Regions from separate parts of the Homo sapiens genome. Here all the other regions are linked to region 7. The links are contacts of gene promoters, found by promoter capture Hi-C in blood cells and fetal thymus (Javierre and others, 2016). All regions are on one chromosome and are shown on one strand. Each heading gives the region's core, a stretch centred on a gene start or on the middle of the fragment in contact. The rest is flanking DNA. Distances are from core to core; before and after follow the strand shown.

Region 1 (2,768 bases), core at 28-2,527, 3.7 Mb before region 7:
CTAAGATTACAGACGCCTGCCACCATATCCACCTAATGTTTATATTTTTAGTAGAGACAAGATTTCACCATGGTGGCCAGGCTGCTCTTGAACTCCTGACCTCAGGTGATCCACCCACCGTGACTTCCCAAAGGGCTAGGATTACAGCTGTGAGCCACTGCACCCGGACTCTTTTACATATTTATAGGGTAAAAAGTGACATTATGATCTATGAATACAACGTGGAATAATTAAAGCTAGTTAACATATCCATCACCTCAAACACTTAACTTTTTTGTGATGAGACTGTTTGAATTTACTCTCTTAGCAATTTTGAAATGTACCATACTCTATTATTAATGACATTTACCACGCCATACAATAGGTCTCAAAAAAAACCCATATTCCTCCTATCTGAGATTTTGTATGCTTTGACCACCATCTCCCCATTTCCCGTCCTCGAGCCTCTGTAACCACCATTCTACTCTCTGCTTCTATGAGTTTGACTGTTTTAGATTCCACATATAAGTGAGAACATGTGACACTTGTCTTTCTGGGCCTGGCTTATTTCACTTAGCATAATGTTCTCCATCTTTATCCATGTTGTCGCAAATGACAGAATTTCCCTGGCCATCAATCTCTAGTTCCAGGCTGGAGGCAGTGGCTCATGCCTGTAATCCCAGCACTATGGGAGGCTGAGGCAGGTGGATCACCTGAGGTCAGGAGTTTGAGACCAGCCTGGCCAACATAGTGAAACCCCATCTCTACTAAACATACTAAAATTAGCTGGGCATGGTGGAATGCACCTGTAATACCAGCTACTGAGGAGGCTGAGGCAGGAGAATCACTTAAACCCTGGAGGTGGAGGTTGTAGTGAGCCAAGATTGCACTACCGTACTCCAGTCTGGACAACAAGAGTGAAACTCTGTTTGAAAAAAAAAAAAAAAAAAAAAAAAAAGCTGGGTGCGGTGGCTCACGCCTGTAATCCCAGCACTTTGGGAGGCTGAGGTGGGTGGATCTTGAGGTCAGGAGATCGAGACCAACCTGGCTAACATGTTGAAACCCCATCTCTACTAAAAATACAAAAAATTAGCCAGGTGCAGGTGTGGTGGCAGGCGCCTGTAGTCCCAAGTACTCGGGAGGCTGAGGCAGGAGAATGGCATGAACCCGGGAGGCGGAGCTTGCAGTGAGCCGAGATCGCGCCACTGCACTCCAGCCTGGGCAAAAGAGGGAGACTCTATCTCAAAAAAAAAAAAAAAAAAAAAATCTCCAGTCCCCATTCTGCTTTTTAAATGCTGAATAGTAGTCCATTGTAAATATGTGGCACGTTTTCTTTATGCATTAATCTGTTGATGGACATTTAGGTTGATTCCATAACTCAGCTATTATGAATGATGCTGCAATGAACCTGACAGTGCAGACATCTTTCAACAAACTGATTTCAAATCTTTTGGGTAAATATCCAGAAGTGGGATTGCTGTGCTGGATTTTTTTTTTTTTTTTTTTTGAGACAGAGTCTCACTCTATCACCACCCAGGCTGGAGTGCAGTGGTGAGATCTCAGCTCACTGCAATCTTCCCCTCCCAGGTTCAAGGGATTCTTCTGTCTCAACCTCCTGAGTAGCTAGGATTACGGATGCCCGCCACCATGTCCAGCTAATTTTTGTTGTTGTTGTTGTATTTTTAGCAGAGATGGAATTTCACCATGTTGGCCAAGCTGGTCTTGAACTCCTGGCCTGAGGTGATCTGTCCGCCTTGTTCTCCCAAAGTGCTGGGATTACAGGCATGAGCCACCACACCCAGCCAAATTGCTGGATCTTATACATTGTTTTCTATGTTTGCTAAAACATAGATACCTCTATGTGTTTTTAACTTTTTTTTTTTCACAATGGGATCATATTATTCTACTGTTGTTTTTACTTAACGGTATATTGCAGATCTCTTTCTAGGTCAGCAAATCCAGCCAGCTTTCTTTTTCTCAACCATGGTACCTTGCATTCCGCCGCGTAGATGGATTACACTTAAGTGAAGCAGCTGTCCATTGAGGGACATCTCAGCTCTTTCTAGGTTTGTGTCTTTGCTTCATAAGCAATGCATCTTTGGACATGTATCCTTGAACAGTGGGGTGAGTATATCCACAGGGAAAGATAAATCATTTGCTGTGTAAATGCTGGACACATACCAAAACAATTTTGACAGAAACACCAAATTGCCCTCCAAATACTTCATTGCTTGAATTGGTAACACTCATCTATTTCTTTAAATTTATTTAATGAAGGCCAGGCACAGTGGCTCACGCCTGTCATTCCAGCAGTTTGGGAGGCCAAGGCGGATGGATCACTTGAGGTCAGGAGTTTGAGACAAGCCTGGCCAACATGGTAAAACCTCGTCTCTACTAAAAATACACATAATTAGCTGGGCTTGGTGGCAGGCGCCTGTAATCCCAGCTACTCAGGAGGCTGAGGCAGGAGAATTGCTTGAACCCAGGAGGCAGAGGTTGCCAGGAGCCAAGATCACACCACTGCACTCCGGCCTGGATGACAGAGTGAATGAGACTCCATCGCAAAAAAATAAAAAATAAAATATAATTTATTTAATGAAAAAGTTTAGTTTGTTTAAGGCATATAATTTGACAAAAATCAATCAAGTGATTTTTTAAAATCTACATCTTCAGGGATTATAGAGATGTTAAAAAGCAACCCAGATGGGTTCAGAGAACAGGATCTTTGGCTGAGTTAGCTCCTACCTTCCCAAATAAACCACCCAACCAGTAGTGTGAGAACATGTAAA
Region 2 (2,955 bases), core at 412-2,911, 3.4 Mb before region 7:
ACTAGTGTGTTCTAGATCCTAGGATCCTTAGAGTGTAGTTATGGACAAAGGGAGTTGCGTTTTCAAAGTTCTGCTGGGCTTTGTCATTTAAGAATCTCTTAAGGCACTGCTACCAGGGCTATTCTTCACTATTTATTGGGAGGCAGCCAGGTTTGCAAAAAAAAAAAAAAAAAAACAAAACAAAAAAAAAACAAAAGAAAAAACACACAACAGAAGCAAAAGAATGGAAGCTTTACGGGGCAAGGAGCTGCCTGTGTGTCCATCACCTCGCACATTCTACATACTCATTAATTTTTTAAACAGATAATAACAGCTCCACAGAGCAGGAGGAAGGAAACTGACAATCATAGAACATGTACCAGGTGCAAGCCACTTTACTGGGTGATTTCCACAGATGATCTCCTCCCTCAGGGCCTTTGCAATTGCTGTTCCCTCTACCTGGAACGCTCTTCCCCCTGGAAGTCCTATCACCCGCTTCCCTGACCACTATGTACAAAGCAGCCCACCACTCGCCCCACCCTGCTTGCTTTTCTCCACGATCCCTGTCATCGGATTTTATAATTACTTGCTCTTAACTTAGTTGTTTGTCCACTCCCACCAACACAGGCTCCACGAGGGCAGGCTCCTGTTTTCTTCCGAGTGCCTAGAACGGTGACACTTAACTGCTGAATGGAGGCATGAAAGCACCGCCAGGCCTCACCTCATTTACCCTGACATCAATGCTAAGAGGAAGTTTCTCTGATCCTCGCTTTACAGATAAGGACACAGGCTAGGGGACCTGCCCAAGGTCACCACCTGGGACACTGCAGAGGCAGGATTCAAGCTCCCCTGTCTGATTTCAAAGTCCAGGTCCTCACTCCCCTACTCCACTGGGTCTGCCGTGTTCTCTTCCTGTGGCCTCACTGCACACCCCAAATGCCAGGACGAGCGCTGTGCACATGGGAGGGGTAACGAAATGGCTACTGAAGTCAGGAACCAATTTCAGCACCAGAAATATTTTCTCTGCCATCTCCTTTGCCTCAATACACACAGCAAACACCTCCCCCACACGCACGTCTCATCACCCTTCGGTTAGGGCTCTGCTGATGTAAGCGAAGCTTCCTTTCAAAATGCGCACAGTCTCCCTCGGTGCCTGTTGAATACACTGGGTGGTTCATCACCAGAGCCAGGAGCAAGGAAGAGAAACTCTCACTTCCTCTCTTCCTCCACCATGGGGCTGGGTGGCCTGGCTTCCATCCTGGGGAAAGCAGGAAGTCAGGGAACAAAAAGCAATGCCCTCAGGTGGAGCTGCACAGACCCTTGTTCTGTGGGTGGAAGTCAGCGCATCCTTGTCAGAGCCCCCTGGTCACCTATGTTCCTTCAGCTGCAGGGAAGACCAAGTGGCCAGACCCTCTGAGGGGGATCCCTGGTTGGTGACCTTTCAGCCAGAACAAAGCATGACTCCAGGTAGCAATAACCCCAGGAAACACTGCCCTTCCCTCTTCAAAAGGAGGCTCAGCTCCCCCATCCCAAAGAATTAAGCAAAAGAACATCAAAATAGAGACAACTCCATTCAGTAAAAATAGAAAATGTTTTCTTTCAAGGAACAAGAGTGTATTAGTCCGTTCCCACGCTGCTGATAAAGACATACCTGAGACTGGGCAATTTACAAAAGACAGAGGTTTAATGGACTCACAGTTCCACGTGGCTGGGGGGAACTTACAACCATGGTGGAAGGTGAAAGGCACGTCTTACATGGTGGCAGACAAGAGGAGAATGAAAGAGCTAGGCGAAACGGGTTTCCCCTTATAAAACCATCAGATCTCGTGAGACTTATTCACTACCAAGAGAACAGTATGGGGGAAAGCGCCCCATGAGTCAATTATCTCCCACTGGGTCCCTCCCACAACACAAGGGAATTATGGGAGCTACAACTCAAGATGAGATTTAAGTGGGAACACATCCAAACCATATCAAAGAGGCTGGGACTAACCTCAATGCCCATCAACAGGGGAGGGTCTACCTACATTACTGTGATACACTTCTACAACAGAACACTATGCAGCAATGAAAAAGAACAAGGCAGCTGCACACGCATGGAGGGTCTCCAAAATATACTGTCCAGTGAAGAACCACGGTAGACAGCTGTGTGCATGCATGTCCAGATACACAAGAAATGAGCAGCAGTGCTTGCCTCCAAGGAGGGCCACTAGGGGCTGTGTGGACGTCGAGTAAGGGAAGCTTCATTTTTCATTAAACACCTTGTTATACTAATCAAATCTACCTGATGCATACATGAGTATTTCAATTTTTGTAATTTATTTTAAGAAACTAGACTACGCCCCGCAAGGAATTTTTCTTAAACTGCTGGCAAGAATTTCATTGCCTTCCTACCTATGAGACCTGCTAAACACCCCTAGCTTTCCCCAATGCACTATTCATCTCAGGGAACTCTCTGGAGGCCACCCATTTTTAGGTAACAATAATCCCTTCCATTTGTGCAGAAAGTCATGAAGCTCTTTCAGGGCAATTAGCAAAACAGGAATTGGAATCCTGGTCACTGTATGCTGACTATACTAGTAGGTGCTTATCTATCCTCTCCAATCCTTACAGCAACCCTAGACATGAGGTGCTCTCCCTAAGGATGGAGGAAAAACAAGGCCCAGCAAGGGAAAGCAAAGCACCAAAAGTCACACAGCCAGGAAACTGCACCCTTCAAATCCAGATCCAGCGCCATGAGAACGCAAAACCCAAATCTGTTCTCCCCCACAGAGGAGATGCCCCATATCAGGCTGCCTCACCTAATCTCATGTATTCCTTTAATCAAAGGTGTAAGCTGACCCCCTGCAATGTCCATGCCAACAAAACACCAATTGGGTACCTTCAAGACGAGTCAGTCCTGGCTGGCAGCAGTTGAGGTACCCTGGGACAGCTTTGCCTTCTACCAGGTCCCCCTGAGCCCTGCCCAGGACAGTG
Region 3 (2,938 bases), core at 203-2,702, 3.6 Mb before region 7:
TTTCTCTCTAGAATCACTGACCTTGAATACAGCCAGCTGCCATCATGAGGGCACTCACATAGCCTACAGAGAGGCCAGTGTAATGAGAAACCAAGGCCTCCTGTTAATAGCTGTGCAAGGGATCCATCATTAAGTGGATCCTCCAGCCCCAGGCGAGCTGTCATATGAAACTGCAGACCAAGCCACCATCCTGCAGCAGCCGTGTGAGAGGCCCTGAGCCAGAACAACCCAGCTAGGCAATCCCAAATTCCTGAGCCAGAGACATAGTGAGATAATAAATATTTTCTGCTTTAAGCCACAAATTTTAAAATGATTTGTTAAATAGCAATAAACAACTAATATATATCCATCCATGAGTCACTCAACAATCCACACATCCATCTATACACCCACCCATTTATTCACCCATCCACTCACCCACCAATCTATTCATCCATCATCCATCTATCTATCCATTGATCCAGCTACCCATCCACCCAGTCATCCACTCATTCATTTACCCACCCATCCACCCACTCACTCATCATCTACTCAGTACAGAACCCAGGGCCTAGCACACAGTAGACGCATGTAAATATTTGTCAAATGAATAACCAAACATTTTGTAAATGTCTGCTCTCTATTTCTTGCCAAGACAGGCCAAGGGAGGCTCAAATGTGGCCCCTGGACCACTGTGAGATGGAGCCAGTGCCTGGTTCTGCCAGAGCAGCTCTGGCCTCTGGATGCTATTGGCCACCTCCTGGGCCCATTTGGCATCATCTCCTTCTGCTAAGAACCACCCACCCTTCTCTCACCCACCCACGCGCAAGCTGCATGGGCCTGCCTGGTAGGAAAAACCTGGCTCTGTCCCTCCCTCTCCCCCACCCCACCACACACACGCCCGCTGGGGCTGGTCATCCTGGAAGGCTGGGAACAGAGAAGCTTCTTGCCTCCCCAAGAGAGTTTGTGACAAGAAGATTTGGGTTCTTCTAGGTTCAAGAACCTGGGCCAACTGGGGCAGCCATAGGGAGGTTTTTGGCAAAGGCCTGGCTGCCTCTTCCCAGAGAATGTCATGTAGGCCTGGGCTCTGCCCGACCCACCCCAAATACCCACTTCCAGCCTATTCCCTTCTCATCCCTCATGGTTCACCTTACAGGCTCAGGCCTCAGTTTTCTCATCTATAAAATGAGAATGATGAGACTATTTTGGAGATGAGATGACACGTGCACAGGGGAACCCTCAGCAAGGGGCCCGGTGAGCAGCAAGTGCTGCAGTGCATGTGGAGCTACTGTGGACCGAGCGGATGGACAGTGAAACCAATGACACCCAGAGGCCCGCAAGCAGCCGCTGACCCGGCCCTCCCCTCTCCTCCCCTGTGCCCACTCTGCCCTGGCTGCATCCCCTCCTCCTGCTCCTCACACTCTGTGCCCACTCCCACCTCTGGGCTTCTGCACTGGCTGTTCCCTCTGCCTAGAATACTCTTTCCCCAAATACCCACTCAGCTCCCTTCTCCCTTCCCTCAGGTTTTTGCTCAAATGTCACCTTCTCAGTGAGCCCCACCTGGATACCCCTCCTCAACTCTCACCAGTCCCCTGTTTGGATTAATTTTTCTCTACCGTATTTATCCTTTTAAGGTACTACATCTTTTCCATCTCTCTCTTTTTTTTTTTTTTTGAGATGGAGTCTCGCTCTGTCACCCAGACTGGAGTGCAATGGCACCATCTCAGCTCCCTGCAAACTCTGCCTCCCGGGTTCAAGCGATTCTTGTGCCTCAGCCTCCCGAGTAGCTAGGTCCCACCAAACCTGGCTAATTTTTGTATTTTTAGTAGAGATGGGGTTTCACCATGTTGGCCAGGTAGGTCTCCAACTCCTGACCTCAAGTGATCTACCGCCTCAGCCTCCCAAAGTGCTGGGATTACAGGCACCAGCCACCACGCCTGGCCCACTATATCTTTTCATTGTTGATTTTGTTATTGCCTGACTCCTCCCAGAACATAAGCTTTATAAGCATGGGAATTTTGGTCTTGCTTGTTCATTGCTAGATCCTCAGCATCTACCAGAGTGACTGGCACATAGTAGGTGTACAGTCAACGTCGATGAATGGAGGGTGAATGGATGAATGGATGGATGGTGAATGTATGTATGGATAGATGAATGAATGAGTGAATGGATAGATGGATGGGTGGCTGGATAGATGAATAGATGGATAGGTGGGTGGATGGATAGATGGATGGGTGGGTGGATGATGGTGAATGGATGGATAGATGGATGGGTAGATAGATAAATGAATGGGTGGGTGGATGGACGGATGGATGGATGGATGGATGGATGGATGGGTGAGTGGGTGGATGGGTAGGTGGAAGGGTGGATGGAGAGAGGATGGACAGATGGATGAATAAGTAGATGGCTGGATGGATGGAGAATAGATGGATAGAGGGTGGGTGGATGGATCATTGGGTAGATGGATGGTCAAAATAAGAGGAGACTGAGTGAGCCTTCTCTAGCAGTCTAGAAATCACCATCTAGGCATGAGTTCCCCATGTTCTAAAGGTAGAAAACTAAAAGACGACTTCAGGGCTTATTAAAAAGTGGTGCAAAATGTTCCACTCTCTCCATATGTCATCCCACCTCCAACAGAAGACTTGAGGTCCATGAGCAGGGAGAGAAAAAGAGGGAAATCTCCTTCCCAGGTTCCGGGTTCACTCCTGTCCTCCAGCCACCCCCAGCCCAAGGCAGGTGATGCTTGATCTTCATGCTGCCTGCCTGGACTAGAGAAAGGCAGCTAGCAAGAGGTGCCTGGGTGGGGAGAGGTGACCACAGCAATGTCCTCCAGTCTACAGGTCAGGGCAGTGTGACTTTCTGGGAGTCAAGTGGACACCAGGAGGCAGTAAGCCTGAGATAGCTTCCTGTTATGCCACCCAGAAAGGAAGAAGAGACCCAGCAGGGGGCAGCGGGAGGT
Region 4 (3,061 bases), core at 97-2,596, 4.6 Mb before region 7:
TATTCTGTGTGATATCATAATGGTGGATACATGAATTTACACATTTGTCATGTATCCACCATACACCGTACAGCACCAAGAGTGAACCCTCATGTAAACTGTGAACTTTGAGTGATAATGATGTGTCAATGTAGAGTCATTGACTGTAACAAATGTACCATTCTGATGTGGGATGTTGATAGTGGGACAAGGCTGTGCATTTGTGGGGATAGGAGGTACTTGGGAAACTTCTGTACCTTCCACCAAATTTTGCTGTGAACTTAAACCTGCTCTAAAAAATAAGGTTTACTTGCTTTTTAAAAAATGCTACCAGGTGCCAACCTGTCTTCCTCTCTAGCCCCTCATCTCATCACCATCATTAACACACACACACACACACACACACGCACACCATTCAAATGCAACCAGGTGCACTCCAGCCTCTTTCTCCAGCCACACTGAGCCAGCTGCCATTCTCCTTCTACCCTGTGCCTTTGAACCACTGATTCTCTGCTTGAAGCCCCCACTCCCACACTGCCAGCTTTTGTTTGACTATCTTCAACATGATTTTCAGTCTCAGCTCATATGTCATCTTTTCACTGATAACTCTGTCCAAGGCAGATGCTCTTTCTCTGTACTTCCAAATCGAAATCAGAGTTCCTTTTGCTAGACCAGCATTTTCTGCCTTGCACGGTAACTCTCAGCTGAAGTTTCTGTCTCTCACACTGTCCTGAGACATGCCACTGGTTCAAGGGGCTGTCTAGGTGGTGCCAAACCTCATACAGATCCTGGCACATAGCAGGTGCCCACTAAAGGCTAGCTGAAATTTCAGGCACTTGAGTAGTGAGCCATGACCCGAAGGCATTGCTTCCTATCTGGGCGACCTTGCCTACTCTAAGCTTCAGTTTCCCCATTGTTAAAATGGGAAAGAATGATAATAAGGGCAATGCCTATTTCATTTGGTGGTTGTGAGGACTGAGTTAATATATATGTAAAATTAACAAATGTAAACAAGAAAAAAATAGCCTGTGGAGGAGGTAAGCTTCTGTAGGCTTCTTCTGAATTGCTTTGGCTTCCTCTGCTGCACATAAAAACAAATGATGTCACTGCCTTGCCCTCCCCCAACCCCACCAGTGGTTTCCCATCACTCTCAGCATCACACGCACACCCTCCCTGCAGCCTAATCTGCCTCCCTGATCTCATCTCCTACTCTTGGACCCGACACTGCGGTAGCCTCACTATTTCCTGCTTTAGGACTTTGCACTTGCTTTTTGCTCTTCCTGGCATACACTTTCCTTTTGAGATCCACATGGCCATCTCATCTACTTCAGAGAGATCTCAGTTGAAATGTCTCCTCTCCAGGACACCTCCCCTCACCCCCAACCCCTATCACAAGGAGCACCTTCGTCACACTTTACCCTTTTATGGTGCTTGATTGACCGGCTCATTGATTGCAACACTGATTACTAATGAATTTTCTTTACTGTTTGCCTCTGCCAATAAAGCAATAGCTCCATGAAGATAGGAACCTGGTTGTGCCCATTGCTATTTTCCTGGTGCTTGCGGGCATTCAGTAAATGTGTTGGGAAAATGAATGAATGTATGAACAGATGAATCCCCTGATACAATGGGAAAGGCAGGGAAATTATCTTGAGTTTCTTTTGGACTCCATCCTCCAGTTCTGGAAGCTTACCTGTACCCCAGAGCCAAGAGAATGACTAAAAGCATGAAATCTGGGACCACCAGCTCCACAGTTTATTTGCTATGGCTGTGGGCCTCAGCTACTTTGCCTGTATAATGGATCTAGTCACTCCATCTACCTCAGTAGTGTTGGGAGGGATGAAAGAACTGATACGAGGAAAGCCTTTAGCACAAGGCCAGGCACATACCTTTGTTAGCTGCTTCACGTGGTTAATACTATAACCTGAGAAGCTGCCCTCATCCTTTCTGTACCCACCTCTTCTGAATATGAAAAAAAAAAAAATCCTTATTTAAATCCATGGTTCCTTTGATGGTACAGCATTTGTATCTTTGCCCACGGCCCCATCCCCTAAGGATGTCTGCCCCCAAATAAAAGTTGTCAAACATTTTAAATGGTATTAAATTGTCCAGAAAATGGGAATGCCCAAAGCAGAGAGTCAGTCAATCAGGATTATTTGAGAGCTTCAAAAAGACAGAAGGAAGCCATTATTAGGTTTAAGAATATTGCATTCCACCTCCCACACAGCCTTTATCTAAATCTTCATTTAATTGGCAGCCTTCAGCACTGTCAGAATTGCATTCTGAGAACCAAGAGAAGTTTTCAAACATTCACACAATGTTATATGCTTGGCTCAAAACAACTCAAGGGGAAAGAACCATCTCTTCTGCAAGAGATTTGGGGATGCCCTAAAGCTGATGCTATGAGAGTTGGGAAACCGACCTTGAATAAGAAACCAAGACCACCATGTAAGTGTCAGCCAAAGACACTGTCCAGAGGTTTCAGGCAGAGAGACTCGGACCTGCTGTCTCCCCAGAATCTCTAGGTGACTCTCTAAGGGCAAGAATTCATCCTTTCTCTATCTCTCAGGACCTCCCCCACTGGCTGGTGCAGTGTAGGCCGGAAATAGATGTTTTTGCAATGACTAATGAGAATTTTTGCGGCTTTATGTCATAAGGGGAATCCTCTCTCAGGCCCATGTGTCTCTGCCTGAGTGATTCCAACCAGAAGCTGGGCTGGAAGAAACCTGATTTCTCCCTGTCCCTCCCTGTAACCCCGTACAGTTAATTAGCAAGTCTTATCTGTTGTGCTATATCTCATGATCTCTGTGGTATCTGTCCCCTTCTCTTCTCTCTCAGGGCCTTGAATGTGGTCTTCAGTCTTCTTCTCCGGAACTACTGCAAAAGGCATCTGTCTCCCATCCTGCGCCCCGGTGCAGGCACAAGCATGCTGATCATTGGAAAACCCAGATTTAAGAGCGTCTGTCACTGCTGCTGAAAAATCCCCCCTAGTTCCTGCGCCTCCAGGGTGAAATCCAAGTTTCTCAACATGACATGCACATCGTGTTTCTTAACCAATCCACCCCCTCCCTGGCTGCTCCCT
Region 5 (3,026 bases), core at 258-2,757, 4.1 Mb before region 7:
TATGTGTTTCCATTCTGTACCTGATGTTTGGGCTTTGATTTGGAATGTTATATTCCCCTGTTCATTTGGCTGACCTCTGGACATTGTTTGAAGGTTAGATACCCTTCTCTAAAGATAGAAAGTATGTCCCACCAGGAGGGATCGGGAGAAGGTACTTTTTTTCTCTGCTTCTCAGAGGAAGCAAGATGTTGGTGAGGAGGGAGAAGATAGTGCCAGGGGCAGGGTCACAGGGAGGAAGGGACCTTTGCTGCTGGAGCTATAATTTACTTTTATGCCTTAAGTAAACTTGCCAAAGTGTTCCTTCCAGTTGTTTATTAAAGAGCAGGACTGTTTCTATCTTGTTTCCAGTATTTTTCCCCTAATACAGCATATTATTCCCAGAAAATGACCTTTACATTTCTTTCTGGGAAGGTAAATAATGCCTTTTTGCCATTACTCAGCATCCTGTTTATGTATAGGTGTGTATATCAGCTCAGGATGTTGGCAGGAGAAGATGACACTCTCAGACTGAGGAGAGACTATCAAGGTGTGGGTGGGGCATAGGGGGGCCCCTCGGGGCAGTGCAGCACCTCCTAGCATGTGTAGTGGGAGTGATTACCACCTGAGCTTGCAGAGTCAACGGGTGGGTGGGGAATAGCTGCTACCGAATCTGCAGATAAGTTGTGTAGAGAGAGCACCTTACAGGAGCTGCTACCTCCATTCACGGGTACGGCCAGCCCAAGGTCATCCTAGCAAGGGAGCCAGGTACCTGGCAGCAAAGGAGCCCTTCCGTGCATTACGTTCAAGTCAGCCTCCCAGGCCAGAGAAACAGGTGAAGACGGGAAGTAGGTCTGGAGGGGTGAATGGATGACATGTCCTTGGTATACGTGTTGTATTGAGTTGTTGTTTTTAACACTCTAAATAGGGAGATCATGGAATGGATTGGTTGATTAAGCACATGGGCTCTGAAGTCAGGCAGACCTGGGTTTGATGCCCAGCTCCGCCAGTTGTTTACTTGTCACCTTGGGTGAGTTACTTAACCTGTTTTGTGTCATTTGTGTATTGGGTATGATGATAGTACCTGTCCAGTACATTCCGAGAAGTAGATGAGGTAATATATGTAAAACAGTCACCATAACACCAGGCATAAAGCACAGTGATTGTCACCATTGTGTGTATTTCCTTATATCTGAATATATGAAGTACACCCATTCCTTTCTACTCACTTATGTTTGTGTATCCTTTTTTGCTAGTGTTGTCTTAACTATTCTGTGAATTTGGAGATTGCATGTGTCTGTGCTCTGAAAGTCTCGACTTTCCCATTTTTAATGTCAGCCGTATCAGTCTGTAATTCAGTGAAGATAATTAGGGCTATTCAGTGTTAACACTGCCTCACAGGGGACACTTTTAGCCAGTGGCTAGACCATGTAGGGGAATGATGATCTAGCTGCTGTGCCTCAACTTGGAACAACTGAAGGGCATTCCTGACTCCAGAGCTCTCATATGTGGCTGAGGCCTTAGTGTAGCCACATTGCCCATTATCTTCTCCCTCTGCCCAATCCTTCTTTCTCTGTTTTCCTAGAAGGGCATCTGCTGAACAACACTGCCTGCTAAGTTTTCTGCATATATGTCTGTCTCAGAGTCTGTTTCCAGGGAACCCGATATAGTGTGAATTCCTAGGAGTGAAATTTACCAGATGAAAGATTTTGCTATCTATTGCCTTATTGTTTTTTTCCCCAAGGATATGGTCCAGAAAGAGTGTGCAAGTATAGGCAGTTTAATTCCTCCTTTGCCGTAGCAAGTTGTTTAAGAAGTATTTTTGGCTATTGTACATCTTATACTTGTGTTTTGTGGTCTGTTTGGAGTCAGAAGCTATAGGGACCTGAAACTAACAAGTTAGCCTGCCACACTTTCACTGATGCTGGTGGAAGATAGGAACCTTCTGGGTCTGAGATGTAGGGGAGGGACAATAGCCTTTCCTTCCACCCATTTGAAGTTCATTAGTTGGGGTCCCTGTAACAAAAGACAGATTAACAAAGAGAAAGGTATACACTTTTATTTCACAAAAGTTTTAGGTGACACAGGAGCCTTCATAAGAAAATGAATACCGAAGAACTGGTTGAACCTGAGTGTTTTTATGTTAGCTTTGATGAAGAGTGGAAAGTTGTGAAGAAATATGATGGGAGCAAGGGGTATGAACGAAGAGTAATAAGCCAGGAGAAACTTAGCAAGTCTTTTGTTCAGATTCCTCTCTCTGTCCCTTCTTCTGAGATAAGGATGTTGCTTTCCTCTGAGTGTAGGGAGGGCACCTCTTATGTGAGATGCTTTTATGACCTGCTTCAGGGGACAGTCAGAAAATCCTACCTGCACGTCATTTTTCAGATTCCTCCAGTGTAAAATTTTCAGTATGCCAAGATGCCATATTTTGGGAGTAGTGTCTCCTGAACACCATCAGAAACAAAGGACTTACTGTACAGCAAGCAGCACAAGCATCAAGTTTGCGTCATTTCTCTTTTGTCCCCAACTCCTATGAGGGATGGCGTGAAGTGGCCCAGGTGGATGCTGTGCACCCAGTGGATTTGCATCATAGCTGAGATCTCCTGAGCTTAGAAAACTGGAACCTTGGATAACGGACCACAAGCAGACTTGCCTTCGGCCCCAAGAGAGGCATCTGTATTATGCTGGACAGTAAGCAAATCTGCCCTTCGCTTTAGAGGAAGACTGTTTTTCAAGGCTGCTCGCTATGCAGATATCCTTGCAAAGATAGTCCAGAGCAACCGGGCAGTTAGTGCCTCACTCAAAAAATGTGCAGGAATGTGAGACCCACTGAGAAGGGTTTTCTAACTGGAGTTTTGCCATGGTATTTGTGGCTTTAGGCAAGTCCAGCTTTTTCTGAGCAGTAGTTTCTCATCTGCGAAATTTATGAAATAATTTTGTGGGTGTGTTTTAGCCTGAAAATTATCCTCATTAATGAAAATTGGATAATTAAAATACAAAAAGAGGTAAGTTTTGAAATATTTCACTTGCTTGCCAACTCTGTAATTAAT
Region 6 (2,815 bases), core at 304-2,803, 3.8 Mb after region 7:
CCTTTATCTTTACTGTGGACACTTTGCAATGAACGTGGCAACCTGCAGGTTTCCACCTGTCGTTATATTACTGCGTAACTAGGGCTAGAAGAACGCAATTGTGCCGTTGCTTTTGAAATCAAAATTTACAGAAGCGTTGAAGAAAAGACGGAAGGAAGGCAGTAAGGAAGTATGTTGTGATATGTAGCTAGGAAAGAGAAGACTAAGGTAGACAAAGACTTAAGCTTATTTGCAGGAGGCAAATTATAAGAAAAATCATACAGGTTTATATCGTCTCATTTGAAGTTGCTGTTTCTGTAAACGAAAACAGTACTTAAGCAACCTGAATTATTTACTTATATTTTGTTCTGTTTTTAAACAATTTTTGCTTTCCCTTTATCACCAGAGGATTTTCCCAACATTTTGGCCTCTTGTCTTTTTAAGGTGGACTTCCTGATCTCCAAATGTCAAGGGACACACTCAGTCTCTCTTATTTGTGGGTGGTGAAAAACATTAGCAAAGATTAGACTGAAATTTGGCCACCAATGAGAGACATTAATGTAGTCAGGAGTTTGAATTTGTCTGCATGTGAATTTATCTTTGTCTTCTGTCTGCAACTTGGCTTTATTTTCAGATTTTCTGCTAGATCTGCAAGGAAGTAAATGGCAGGATATGCTTAATATTCATAATTAATTGAAGAGACTCAATGCTATCTTTATTTTTTCATTTTTTTTTTTGGTACAGTTGGTGTCTCACTATGTTGTCCAAGCTGGTCTTAAACCCCCAGCCTCAAGCAATCCTCCCACCTCAGCCTCCCAAACTGCTGGGATTACAGGTGTGAGCTACTGTGCCTGGCCATTCATTCTTAATTATAACTAGAAAGATATAAGGGTTATGTTAATGGGGAAAGAAAACTAAGAATTATTGAATCTATTGAGTGCCTATAATATGCCAGCCCTGGTTCAGACGCAAATATTTAATCCTTTTAATTAATGCTTCTCAAACTTTGATATGCTTACAAATCACCAGGGGACCTTGTTAAAATTCAGATTCTGATTCTGTAGGTCTGAGATGGGACCTGAAATTCTGAGCTTCTAACAAGCTTTCAGGTGAGGCCCATGCTGTGTTAACAAGGCTTGTAACAACCTTACGAAGTCGGTATTTTCTCATTACAAATGAAAATTGTTGCTCAAATGTTGCTCTCGAGGTGGGCTTTTTCTCACGCTTTGAAAAAATTTTGTCTTTCTCCCCCTAATGTGTTTCTGCTTTAGTTTTCTCCATAGTTTTTACCACTTGTGAATAGTTTGTAGAATTTACTTATTCTGTTCATTCTTTGTCTCTCATTAGAATGTAAGCTCTTGTTTAGTTTGTAAACTCCTGTTTACTTTTTTTTTTTTTTTTAAATAAATGAGAGACAGTCTCGCTCTGTCACCCAGTCCGGAATGCAGTGGCACAATCTTGGCTCACTGCAACCTTCACCTCCCAGGTTCAAGCGATTCTCATACCTCAGCCTCCCAAGTAGCTGGGACTACAGGTGAGCGCCACCATGCCCCACTAATTTTTCTATTTTTAGTAGAGATGGAGTTTCACTGTGTTGGCCAGGCTTATCTGGAACTCCTGAACTCAAGTGATCTGCCTGCCTTGGCTTCCCAAAGTGCTGGGATTATAGGTGTGAGCCACTGCACCTGGCCCCTAGTTTACTTTTATATTATCATTGTCTTGAAAAGTGCCTGGCACATAGGAGACATTCAGTAATTACTATATAAATGAATAATTAGTTATGATAGTGAAATGGAAGATGACAATAAGGCTCAGACATTGGGAAGGATCTTTCCAAGATCACATTGCTGGTCAGGATCAAGCCAGGTTTCTGTGACCCCAGTTCCTAATTGGTTGGTGTGCCTGCTTGCAGCAGTCTTAGGCAAAAGAATTGCATTAATTTTATTAAGATACTAAATTTCAAACTTTAGAAAGTGATATATTTTATTTCACACTGAGTTCACTTTGCAGTTGTACTAAGCCTAAGCAAGCTGTTTCGAAGCTTATTGGGTGTCTCCAATCCTGACTCACTGAAGCAGTGTGAAACTGACTATGAGCTTAAAAAATTATTCTAGTTACACATGATCATTGTGGAAAAATGACACTATTCAGATAAATAAAAATGAATATAGAGCTGGGCATGGTGGCCTGTGCCTGTAATCCCAGATACTTGGAAGGCTGAGGTTGGAGGATCACTTGAGCCCAGGAGTTCATGACCCTTCCGAACAGTAGGACCTTGTCACAAATAATTAATTAATTGAAATAAATTAAAATCACCTGAAATCGTACCACATACAGAAAACTAAGATTAACCCTGGCCCAAAGTGCTTTTTTTTTGAGACGGAGTCCTACTCTGTCACCGGGCTGGAGTGCAGTGGCACAATCTCGGCTCCCTGTAACCTCCGTCTCCCAGGTTCAAGTGATTCTCCTGCCTCAGCCTCCCAAGCAGCTGGGACTATAGGCGCATGCCACCATGCCCAGCTAATTTGTTTGTATTTTTAGTAGAGACAGGGTTTCACCATGTTGGCCAGGAAGGATGGTCTCGATTTTGTGATCTGCCTGCCTCAGCCTCCCAAAGTGCTAGGATTATAGGCGTGAACCACCGCGCCTGGCCTAAAGTGCTGTATTTCTTAAGGGATTTCAGCATTAGCTTCCTAATTTCTCTTTTTGCCTTCCAGTTTTGACCTTCTCCCATCTCCATCCTCCACTCTGCAGCCAGACTTATTTTATTGATTGATTGATTGATTGAGACTGAGTTTCACTCTTGTTGCCCAGATCTCAGCTTGCTGCAACCAAC
Region 7 (2,992 bases), core at 493-2,992:
CAGTTTGGGCGACGGAGCGAGACCCTGTCTTTAAAAAAAAAAAAAAAAAGGCCGGGAGCGGTAGCTCACGCCTGTAATCCCAGCACTTTGAGAGGCCGAGGCGGGAGGATCACGAGGTCAGGAGATCGAGACCATCCTGGCTAACACGGTGAAACCCCGTCTCTACTAAAAACACAAAAACTTAGCCGGGCGTGGTGGCGGGCGCCTGTAGTCCCAGCTACTCGGGAGGCTGAGGCAGGAGAATGGCGTGAACCCGGGAGGCGGAGGCTGCAGTGAGCCGAGATCGCGCCGCTGCACTCCAGCCTGGGCGACAGAGCAAGACTCCGTCTCAAAAGAAAAAAAAAAAAGAAAAACCCTCTGGAAGTGGGGCCCAGAAAAAGGCTCTTACAAAAAAAGTTTCCCAGATGCTGAAAATCAGATTTACATCCATGTTTCTCAAAACCAGGTGATATTCCACCTCACCTGGAAAGCTTAAAAAAAGAGACTCCCAAAGTTGAGAGTCGGCTACAGTAGGTTCTCTATGGAGACCCAAAACGTGTATTTAGGACATTTCCTAGGTGATTCTAAGGTGCCGATATAAGAGGCACTGTCGTATCTTAAGAGCAATCAAGGAACGACAGTTAAGGAACAGAGAGTACCTACTAGACACGGTGCTATGTGCTTTACGCACAGTGCCTGAACTGACCCTCGTATCAACCCATTTTACAGGTGAAAAAACCAAGATTAAACGTTATTTCAATGGCCCAAGGTCACACAGTTAAAGATGAAGGCTCTGCTGGGGTTTCCAAAACTTTCCCAGGAAATGATAGTGAAGCTATCTAGGACTGCTACTAAAAAATACTCCTGGCTAGGCGCAGTGGCTCACGCCTGTAATCTCAATTCTGGAGGCTGAGGCAGGTGGCCTGCTTGAGCCCAGTAGTTCGAGACCAGCCTGGGCAACATGGTGCGACCCTAGTCTCTACAAATACTTAAAAAATTAGTCGGGCATAGTAGTGCACGCTTGTAGTCCCAGCCACTCAAGAGGCTGAGATGAGAGGATTGTCTGAACCCAGTAGGTAGAGGCTACAGTGGGCTATGATGGCACCCCTGCACTCCAGCCTGGATGACTGAGCAATACCGGTCTGGACAAAACAAAACAAAACACAACAAAACTCCTATCCCTGCAACCCAGAGCCTGCAGGAGGGAGCTGAGCATGTGCGCTTTTTAAAACATCTTTATTTTTTGGCGGGGATGAGGCCGCTTTGCCCTCGCCGCGCCGCGCAGTGCTGCATCCTGAACAGCAGAGGGCGCGCCGGGAAGCCACCAGGTGACCCCCGCTGGACCCGAGGCCCACCAAGGGGGCCGGCCCCTACTGGGAACCCTGGACCCTTTTCCCTGAAGCTCCTTAACAGTTACTTTCACTTTGCACCGCACGCGCTGCGCTGGAGTGCGCGTCCTCCCCGCGCAGGTGGCGTCCGTGGGCTGTGCAGGGTCCCAGGTGCGTCCGCGGCCCCACTGCGGCCCCCTTACTTGGCGTAGTAAACCCAGCCGTCCTTGGTGGTTCTCTCCTCCCAGCCCGGAGGCAGCTCGTCCTCACTGTCCGTGTCGTCCAGCCCCGCGTAGCGCAGCGCTGCCATGGCTGACTGTGGAGGCACCTGGCCCCCCTATCGCCCGCTGCCGGGTCCACTCGCTCAGGAACTCACTCCCGCTCCAAACGAGACCCGCGCGCGTCGGGGCCCGACCGCTCACGCCTGCGCACTGCGCCCTCCAGGGGCCGCTCCGCCGACCACGAAGCTGAAATCCAGTCTCCGCAATATCGCGACGGCCGGCGTCAAAGGGGCAGGGCCTGGAGAGGAAGGCGGTGAAAGTGCCTAAGAGATCGCGCTGCCGCCGGGCTAGACAGCAAAGCCGGAGAGCGCTCCGAGGCGCTAGAGATAGAGCGGAGCCTTGTCAGCCTCCCCGCCGCAGGGAAGGGGCGTGCGCATCCAGTTTCGGGCCAGGACTCCGCCCGTTGCTGGGCGACCCGTAATCACTTCCGCGTTGTTCTGGCCAATCCTGCAGGAGCCCGGCAATTGGATATGGGAAATGTAGTCCAGGTGGCGCCTGACCAAAAAGCGGCGCCCGACTAAAAAGCGGCGCCCATGCTGTTGTCCTGGGCTTCTGTCTCTCCTTGCCTTGGGGTCTCGTGAAAGTCCGTGATCACAAACCTTCCAGGGCTTGCCAGCATTCGTGCTGATTCACAACCTTTGTTTTGCATATGAACACAATGTTAAAATATAACCTGGAGAACTTAAAACTGCTGATTCCTGATTTCCTGGTTTTAGAGAACTTTCTTTCAGCCAAAACACATAATAGAGACTGTGATAATAGAGACTGTTGTTTAATAGAGACTCATGATAATAGAGACTGATGATAATAGAGACTGATTGATAATAGAGACTGTTGATAATAGAGACTGATGTTTACGGAGCACTTAATGTGCGGTCCAGGCCAGAAATGCACAGACATCACATGTAGCTGACACCTTTGTGTAGTGGGCACAACTCAGACAGGGTAGCTAGGCCGGGCTCAGTGGCTCATGCCTGTAATCCAAACACATTAGGAGGCTGAGGCAGGAGGATCACTTGAGGCCAGGAGTTTGAGAACAGCCTGGGCAACATCGCAAGACCCCTGTCTTTACCAAAAATAATTATTTTTTTAGTTTGCCGGGCGTGGTAGTGCACATCGGTAGTCCCAGCTACTCATTGAGGCTGAAGGGGGAGGATCACTTGAGCCCAAGAAGTCGAGGCTGCAGTGAGCTATGATCGGGCCACTGCACTCCAGCATGGACGACAGAGAGAGCTGCTGTCTTTAAAAAACTGCCTCACCTTTAGAGAATTTCCTTTAGTAAGTCTGGAATAGGTCCAGAATCTGGAAAGAAAGGGAGGGAGGGAGGGAGGGAGGGAGGAAGGAAGGAAGGAAGGAAGGAAGGAAGGAAGGAAGGAAGGAAGGAAGGAAGGAAGGAAAATAAAA

Evidence for each region. The method cuts DNA at HindIII sites, captures the fragments that hold promoters and counts their contacts. A CHiCAGO score of 5 or more calls a contact.
Region 1: a fragment that was not itself captured here is called in contact with the fragment with the promoter of WWOX in region 7 in 6 of 17 cell types (non-activated CD4 T cells, total CD4 T cells, activated CD4 T cells and 3 more); the score reaches 16.9 in non-activated CD4 T cells.
Region 2: a fragment that was not itself captured here is called in contact with the fragment with the promoter of WWOX in region 7 in 3 of 17 cell types (activated CD4 T cells, naive CD4 T cells and naive CD8 T cells); the score reaches 10.1 in activated CD4 T cells.
Region 3: a contact is called between a fragment that was not itself captured here and the fragment with the promoter of WWOX in region 7, in 2 of 17 cell types (activated CD4 T cells and non-activated CD4 T cells). The highest score is 8.6, in activated CD4 T cells.
Region 4: a contact is called between a fragment that was not itself captured here and the fragment with the promoter of WWOX in region 7, in 1 of 17 cell types (total CD8 T cells). The highest score is 5.0, in total CD8 T cells.
Region 5: a fragment that was not itself captured here is called in contact with the fragment with the promoter of WWOX in region 7 in 4 of 17 cell types (naive CD8 T cells, total CD8 T cells, activated CD4 T cells and 1 more); the score reaches 11.0 in naive CD8 T cells.
Region 6: a fragment that was not itself captured here is called in contact with the fragment with the promoter of WWOX in region 7 in 5 of 17 cell types (activated CD4 T cells, non-activated CD4 T cells, total CD8 T cells and 2 more); the score reaches 8.4 in activated CD4 T cells.

What each region holds. Positions count from the first base shown.
Region 1 is chr16:81,749,141-81,751,908 of GRCh38, reverse strand. All of the region lies in intron 2 of LOC105369213 (a long non-coding RNA gene), which reads right to left. It also overlaps a transcript of PLCG2 not described here. Among named protein-coding and RNA genes, the nearest start is that of PLCG2, 29 kb to the left of the region's middle. The HindIII fragment of the contact is 7,152 bases long and covers 1-2,768 here.
Region 2 is chr16:81,450,106-81,453,060 of GRCh38, reverse strand. The region is part of intron 1 of CMIP (c-Maf inducing protein); the gene reads right to left. Among named protein-coding and RNA genes, the nearest start is that of CMIP, 6.8 kb to the right of the region's middle. RefSeq lists an enhancer at 987-1,326. The HindIII fragment of the contact is 1,123 bases long and covers 1,100-2,222 here.
Region 3 is chr16:81,732,836-81,735,773 of GRCh38, reverse strand. No RefSeq gene overlaps it. Among named protein-coding and RNA genes, the nearest start is that of PLCG2, 45 kb to the left of the region's middle. The HindIII fragment of the contact is 1,057 bases long and covers 924-1,980 here.
Region 4 is chr16:82,653,637-82,656,697 of GRCh38, reverse strand. All of the region lies in intron 1 of CDH13 (cadherin 13), which reads right to left. Among named protein-coding and RNA genes, the nearest start is that of CDH13, 28 kb to the right of the region's middle. RefSeq lists silencers at 996-1,045, 980-1,274 and enhancers at 2,178-2,227, 2,468-2,517, 2,568-2,777, 2,599-3,061, 2,019-3,061. The HindIII fragment of the contact is 646 bases long and covers 1,024-1,669 here.
Region 5 is chr16:82,160,192-82,163,217 of GRCh38, reverse strand. The region is part of intron 2 of MPHOSPH6 (M-phase phosphoprotein 6); the gene reads left to right. Among named protein-coding and RNA genes, the nearest start is that of MPHOSPH6, 8.5 kb to the left of the region's middle. RefSeq lists cis regulatory regions at 15, 2,418 and enhancers at 1-87, 2,346-2,490. The HindIII fragment of the contact is 3,410 bases long and covers 1-3,026 here.
Region 6 is chr16:74,293,558-74,296,372 of GRCh38, reverse strand. No RefSeq gene overlaps it. Among named protein-coding and RNA genes, the nearest start is that of PSMD7, 1.8 kb to the left of the region's middle. RefSeq lists an enhancer at 1-326. The HindIII fragment of the contact is 939 bases long and covers 1,084-2,022 here.
Region 7 is chr16:78,098,404-78,101,395 of GRCh38, reverse strand. It overlaps WWOX (WW domain containing oxidoreductase), which reads right to left and starts at 1,742. Exons shown (of 9, transcript NM_016373.4): 1 at 1,511-1,742. The coding sequence starts at 1,617. RefSeq lists an enhancer at 1,009-1,508. The HindIII fragment of the contact is 3,217 bases long and covers 473-2,992 here.